2 separate regions of the Homo sapiens genome follow, and region 1 is linked to region 2. The links are contacts of gene promoters, found by promoter capture Hi-C in human tissues and cell types (Jung and others, 2019). All regions are on one chromosome and are shown on one strand. Each heading gives the region's core, a stretch centred on a gene start or on the middle of the fragment in contact. The rest is flanking DNA. Distances are from core to core; before and after follow the strand shown. Region 1 has its middle 48 kb from the start of SULT1E1. Region 2 holds the start of SULT1E1 (sulfotransferase family 1E member 1).

Region 1 (4,016 bases), core at 933-3,432, 48 kb before region 2:
GTAGAAAGAGCTACAGGTCAAGAATCATAATGTCTAGAATTTTTCTTCATTTATATTCTTCTGTTTATCATTTATGATATGAGAAAATTGCACTAGAGGATTTCAAAATCCCTTTCCAGCTCTCCCATATTTGAATTCTAAGATTGAACTAGGCCATGAAGCTTATGGCTATTTTTTTAATTTAATAATGCAAGATCGTATATCCATATCTCTTTTCCTTGAGTTTGTAAATATGAGATAACTTGTAGTATACATGATTCTATATTGAATCAAATATTGAAGTTTGTCTATATAATGATTACCTAATAATTAAACATTTAAAACTTCCATCTGTCTTTGAAAGAAAACATGCTACATACATTAAAATCTTCTCTTATGCATATATTACCCTTGGATGGAGGAAGAATATAATATGATTATTGGCACAGTCAGATTCTGACTCCTCTATTACAGATGCTTATGATTCAATTGTCCAAGCTTGTCATTTTCTGTCATGACTCCTCCAGATATCTTAAAAAAAAAGGGGGGGGAATTTACTCTTGTAGTGAAAAGAGACATTTAAAAAAATACCATTTGTGAGTCCAGGAATTATAAGTTCCATGAAAGTCACTCGCTTGTATATTGCATCACGTTTACATTTCTCTGCATCCCCATTGTTAAAGATCAAATCCAATATTTCACTGATCCAGGTCATCCCTAAGGAAAGAAAATATTAACAAAACTTTAAACTTTTCTGTCAAAAAGAGTATAAGATAATCAGTGGCTGTAGAGAAGTTGTGTAACAATATCTAAAACAAAAATGTATTCTTTATTTCCACTCCCTTTCTTCTCCCCTTTCCTAGGAACCATCCTTATCTATCTTTTGTTTTTGTTTTTTGACATAGGGTCTCACTCTGTTGCCCAGGCTGGAGTGCAGTGGCAGAATCATGGCTCACTGTAGCCTTGGCCTCCTGGACTCAAGCAATTCTCCCATCTCAGCTTTCTGAGTAGTTGGGACTAAGTTGTGCACCATCACTCCCAGGTAAACTTTTTAATTGTTTGTAGGAAAGGGGCCTCACTGTGTTGTCCAGGCTCTTATTTATCTTGAACATACATATAATTTTTGTGTGTGTGTAAAATGTGATTAAAATATCATACAAATAAGACCCAAAAAGGAGGTAAAAGAGGAAGTATTAAACAGACAGGTTGTGAGTAATGATAACGTACTCTCTGGGGTAAAATGGGTGGAGGAAGTGGCCAACTTCAATGTCTATCAGTTTGTAAATTTCCTACTAATATCAAAAAGTTTATTAGAATTGAATTGCATTTCAGGTAAAAATGTTCTAGATTTGGTGAAAGGGTAAAGAAGGAAAAGAAAAAATCTTGGCAATTTTCCATGCAGTGACCAGTGTGCCACTCACAAAAAAAAGACAATAGATTCTGATTGAGTAGAGTGGATCAAGATACTCTGACCATTATGATATTGTGTCTCACCAGTTATTTGAGAAATGTATCTAAATCATATGTGCCTATGGTATACTTAATTGTACATTCAACAGTCAGATTATTGAGGCACTGCTAAAAAAAAAGAAATATAAGACATAGGAAATAAGTATCTCCTTAACTGTTCCCATTTTCTTCCTCTTTACCAAAGGTATAATGATAAATTAAATAATAGGAGGCAGTAACTAAAATATTAAGTTAATTAGTTAATCATTTGATTAAGCCATGCACACGACAACATTTTTAAATAATGATCTATATGTAGATACACATTTGGATTGCACCCAGATACTACAGCACATTAGGCCCCCTTTTTGGTCTTTTCTTGTGGTCAACTCTTCCTCCTTCTTGTCCCCAAATCATGAGTACCTGTACTAGGCAATCTCCCCAATCCTATCACAGATTTAGTACTAAAAAACAGATGAGCCAAATCAGTACCAACGTTGAACATTTTGCTGCTTGATCTGGTTTAGGCTTAAGCAACGATTCATGAGTTAAAAGAGAGAGAAGGAGAGAGACCTAAATTTCAAAGTACAATGTAACTCATTTTATCTCTTATTGGGGAAAGTTTTAAATTGCGGCCCTTGAAGTCTGACTGAAAGAAATACCAATTTAGCTGTTTTGTATGCTTTGTAATGAAAAAGTCTGTGGACTTTGTAGAGAAAAAAAATAGCACATGGTTTAGCTCACCTAAGGAGATAGTTAACTTGTACCTTTTGTAACAATGTTAATAAGGCACTAATATATTAATAATTTTAAAACTTTAAGACATGTTCACACCCATGTGTAAAGGAAACAATGACAAAAACCTACGAAAAAGAATGTTAAACTATGTGTATACTTCTCTGCAGAGTTCACAGAGAAAAATAAAATAAAAATAAAAAATAAACTATGTGTAGCCATTTTAGCTTTTACTATACTAGAAAAAGTTTAGCTTCAATGAGTATCTTGTAGATGAACTATTTGTATAATGGTACCTTTCAAAGATTATCTTAATGGTTTTCTTCTTTTGAATATATCCAAAAATAGCAAAAACAAAAGGACGTGTACATTCTCAGTAACTGACTTCCCTTCTCTAAACACTTATTTCAACAATGAAATGAAATGCGGTTTTAGTCTTAAACAATTTGGGTTTGGTGAACTACTCAGAAAGCAAGGTAAGTAGTAAGAAAATAAAGATGCTTTGTCAAAACAAGTTAGTTTTTTACATGTACCAAAATCTGTATTGTGCATTGTTTACTTCCTAGAAGAAGCTCTTTGTTCTCATACAGGTTCACAATTTTGGCAGATTAACATCCCTCAAATTCAGGGCTTTCCTCCTGAGACTTGTTACACATTACTTTAAAATAATTTTGATATTTTTGATAATTTTGATATACATAATATAAAATAATCAGTACACAATATGTTTACTTGAAATGTATTTCTTTAAGAAATTAAATAGGAATATAAAGGAAATTTGCCTTTAGGGGGTTTGGTAATTATGGGACAGTTGATTAATTGTGGACTAAATTAATTTAACTGAACAAAAGGCTAGAAAGAGCCTCATCTGTGATATATCTCTGCACGACTATCACTGGGTAAATCAGAAGATTCTGTCATAGCAGATATGGAGAAATAAAAATTGTTGATTCTTAATAAGTCATCTTAAGTTTTTCTGAGATTGTATACTGAAATCAGCAGTTGTTTAAATATACAAACAAAATATTTAAATATCAAAATGTATAGAATATGTATATTCCAATATATCTGATATGTGTGTGTATATAATGGAATATACATATTCTAATGTATCCAAAACATATATATATACAGTTTTAATAATTTCTATTTGAATTTAAAAAGAAAAACAAGAAAACGACATTAATTTTTCTCTCAGATATATTCTTTATTCAATTGGTAACCTTTCAGAATAGGAAGTAAATTAGTCTAACTTAAGATGACACTCTCACAGCAACCACCACAGGGTTTCCTCAAAAAATGTTTAATAATTTCAAGTTAGACCTGACTAATAATCTGTAAATCAGTGGGTTTACACATATGGATCACTATCAAATCATTGAGTACAAACAAATGAAAATGTCTTCCAGATTTGGGATAGGTAGAGATCAGAATATCATCTGGTCAGGCCTCAAACAATTCTACTTGAAACCACTCTTCAGCAATGCTCTAGAAAAGGGGAATCCCCTGAACATCCACTAACTCCCTTCTGAAGACACGCTGCTCATTGTCCATTTTGAGGAAACTAGATATTGACCAAAGTGTAGTATCAATCAAATCAAACAATAGGTTAATATTTTAGTAGTATTATCATCACTCTAGCTCCAGCAGCATTAGATTTTAATACTATGGATTTTGTACTGTTCATTTATTACATAAGGCTAGCACTTTTTATTGGCAAAATTACTTTTATAGCATTTCCTCAGGCAAAATTTTCTGAGATACATAATAAATTTACTGAACTTTGGAGTCAGGTGAAAAGTGCCTTAATTGCAGTGCCATTGTGTCAGGCAGGTATTGCTAACACAGGCCTC
Region 2 (3,705 bases), core at 623-3,122:
TTTTTCCCCATTCGATCAATAAGGTAGTGGATACTCCCATTGAATGACTTGGCTAAAAATGATAAGGTTAAGCAAGATGGTTATCATTTCCTAATTCATCTCCTGATCCCATGACAATCTATTTCATGTTCAAGGTTACTAACAGAATTTTTAATTAGGCATACTTTCTTTCATTAGCTTTCAAATTCCTTTAGTATCTTGTTTTTTCAACTGCCAAACTTAGCTTATTTCAAGTTTCTGACATAGCTTCCCAACACATTTTGTCTTTCCTGACATTAGCCTTTCTAGATCTTCCTCCTGTTCACATTTGCCCAAAAACCTGCCTGATAAGTTCTTCTACACACATAAATTGCCCCAGCCCTTAGGACAATCTCAACTTTTAAAAAACCTTCCTCTACATCATATCAGATGTAATGTCACCAAAAATATGAGATTTCTATTTCCAAAATGCATATTAGCCTTATCAATAAATCACTTGTTCCCCAAGCCTTCTCCTTAGTCTCAGAAAATAGATCTTTCACTAGAAGAAATGTGTATAAAATGCACCACGATTTGTCCTGCCTATTGGTTTGCTTACTCATGTGAATTACTTTCTTGGTGTTCAGCCAAGTTTATAAGAATTGGCTTATAGTCAGCTGGGAGTGGTAGATTTATCATTAAGTGGTTGGCTGACTTCCAGCTACTCCTTCATAGTCAATTTTGGTCTGAGAGGCAAAGTAGGTGGCATGTAATAAAATATCTTTTCTCATTCTATTCCTTTTGGTAAATTGTCTCATATTACAATGTATGGATTTACTTCCTATGTGATCCCCATTTTCTCAAAAGATCTATTTCAGTTAGAAATTGTCAATTTTTTATTCTGAGTATGTAGGTCAGTTGTTCAGAAATAAACATCAAAAAAGTTGTTAAAATTGTGACTTATAAATTCAATTAAACTCAGAAAGTGTTTTTCCTTCCCGCTCTCCTTCCTCTCTTTCTTCCTTTCTTTCTGCATACTCCCCTCCTGCATCTTCCAACCTGCCTTTTATCCAGCAAATACTCCCTATGTGAATGCCTACCCTTTTCCTAGGCCCTGTAGTCAGTGCTAGAATACTATGGTGGATATAGATACATAGGGTTCTCATAGTCCCTACTTTCTTAGATTTACCTGTATGAGGGCAAAGTGACTTTTGTACATGTTTCTATCCCAATCTCCAGCACTATGACACAAAGTAGATGTTCAGAAATATTTGTTAAGTTCAATTATTAGATCAAGAAGCTCTCTAGTTTCTACTAAGTAAGGATTCACAGATTTAAAAGGCAATATATGTCAATGACCTACATATTAATTATTTACCAAGGACTTTGGATTTCTGTCATATTTATCTGAAGTTTCTTACATGAAAGTAATGCCCCTATTTGCAAGACCCCTTATCACAGGAACACAAAACTAAAAGTCAATCTCTATTCTACCTCCTTCTACCCTGCTTGCTTTATTTTCTCATTGGTAAAATGGAGAACACGTCCAGCATTCAGCACTTTTAAGATAGCAATGGTACTGTAATTTTACATTAAAGCAATAAGCAACAAAATACTACATAAATGTAAAATATTATTTTTAACAACAAATTATTTTAAAAGGTTTTAAATGCTTCACATCATTAATTAACTAAAGTATCAATCAAGACTTTGGTCTTTGTATATTTTATTTTTAAGAGCTTTGTAATACATAATTTTCATTCTATATTTTATATATCTAAAATCTAAGTATTGATATTAATAATAAAAAAGTACAACCTGTTTAGTTGATCCTGTGAAAGAAATTGATCTAGTTTATATCTCTTCAAATACCAAGGCAGATCTTAAGCTGCAAAAAAAGATGAGAACCACTTCTGCATTTGGAATGTTTCTGGTGAGTTTATATCCTGAATGCCAGAGAAGGAGGTGGAGATTAATTTGGGGGCTTGGCTTCATGAAGTCCATGATGCAATAGTTAATGTAGATGTAAATGCATACCTGCAGCTGCAGTAACCACACAGAGTCATGTTCATTCATGGAGATGTAGAAATATCCTGCTGTTATTTTTTTAATTATTTGGCTCATATTCAAATTCCCAAGTCTGCCGTCAGGGGTTGGGGAAGAAGGAGGGAGAAAAGGAAAAGATGAGAAAGAAGAGGCCTGGGAAGAGAGACTGGGAAGGGAGAATCCCTTATTCACTCATTGACAAATAATAGCATGACTATGGTTAACTTTCAAAAGAATAAACTTATTGGAGTGAAGAAAGAGAAGCCAATGAGGAAAGAAATAAGACAGCAAGGACCCTCAATCAGACCTAGCTCAGTTTATTAAGACCTGCCAAAGAAGTCATTGGGTTGTATCTTAACATGTCAATTGGAAAACACCTATTTAAACTCTTTGCCTTTAACTCTTAAGCAGACCTGAAAATTTTAAAAAGCAGATGACAGCTAAAGAAAGAATGTAAACATCACTCACCTTTCGATTATTATTTTAGAAACCTGACTTCTCTCTGCTCCCAACCACAAAATAGCATACTGTGAATTTTTCAGGTAATGATAGCTACCAACACTTGGAATTTACACAAGAGAATTAGAAAAATAAATGGCCAAGGGTTTGTGGAATCCACAAATGCATTACCTTTCTTTTCATTTTTCTGCACCTACTCTGTCACTTAAGAAAATTATCCTTTGCTCCACCCCATCAACACCTCCAACCCTGTTATTTCTTATTTCTCTATTAATTACTGTTAGATTACATTTCCTTTGAGAGGCTCACTCTTACAAGACTCTATGTTTCTCTTAGTGACTTTTAAACTTTGAACTTTCTCCTAACTAGTATTTATTTTACTGTGTTGTAAATCAATGTTTGCTTGTCCAGAGTACTTTTTAAATTATAAATAGCTTGAAAACAGGGTCTTACTCTGTAATTAGCATTTTTTTCTGGCATCTAGTAGGCTAGGCATTGAATATGTATTTACTGAATAAAAGTGGCTGATTTATTCAAGAAATATAAGAAGTTAAGGGGGCTATAGTTGTTATAGAAAGCAATATCTAGCCTTATGCAAAATAAGAGGTGTTAAGTGGTTTCTGAAAAATGGGGCTTTTCATAATAGAAAATTAAGGTAGAAAAGGAGTAACCAGGGACCCAAATTTAGATTTTCATTTTACTTTGTTTTATGCAGTCTGTCATATTATTTGAGTTAAATAAAATATGTGTTGAAAAACAATCATTAAATGTACAAATTTACTCATTCATATGCCTACTATGTACCTTTAAAAATTAAGTATATATATACAAATTTAATACAGAATATAATTTTTAACCTTGCAGCATAGCTTCACTTTATTTTTTTAATGACAAGAATCTATGAAGTTTCCTTTATTGTTTAGCGAAAACATTTTTTAGTCCAAAAAAATCAGAAAATGAGCACAAGCTAATATAAACAGATTTAACCTCAATACATCTGTCTGTTTTTCACTTGTAAACAATTGGTTGCAGGGATGTCACAAATGCTCCTAACTCATGTAATTCTGGCAACCACAGATGTTCAATACACATTTATTCTTAGAAAATCTTTCTAATGTTAAGAATTCACTTACTGATAAAAACAAAACAACAGGCAAGATGGCCCTGAAACCTCATTCTTCTCCATGAGTAATGGGTACAGACTGAGTTACAAAATGTTTGAGTCAATGTCAAAAAAAAAAA

Evidence for each region. Contacts are between HindIII fragments. The study calls those that stand out against the background at their distance.
Region 1: a contact is called between a fragment that was not itself captured here and the fragment with the promoter of SULT1E1 in region 2, in 1 of the 25 tissues and cell types used here (small bowel).

The regions. Positions count from the first base shown.
Region 1 is chr4:69,810,172-69,814,187 of GRCh38, forward strand. It overlaps the pseudogene SULT1D1P. Among named protein-coding and RNA genes, the nearest start is that of SULT1E1, 48 kb to the right of the region's middle. The HindIII fragment of the contact is 5,108 bases long and covers 1-4,016 here.
Region 2 is chr4:69,858,273-69,861,977 of GRCh38, forward strand. It overlaps SULT1E1 (sulfotransferase family 1E member 1), which reads right to left and starts at 1,873. Exons shown (of 8, transcript NM_005420.3): 1 at 1,777-1,873. The HindIII fragment of the contact is 19,346 bases long and covers 1-3,705 here.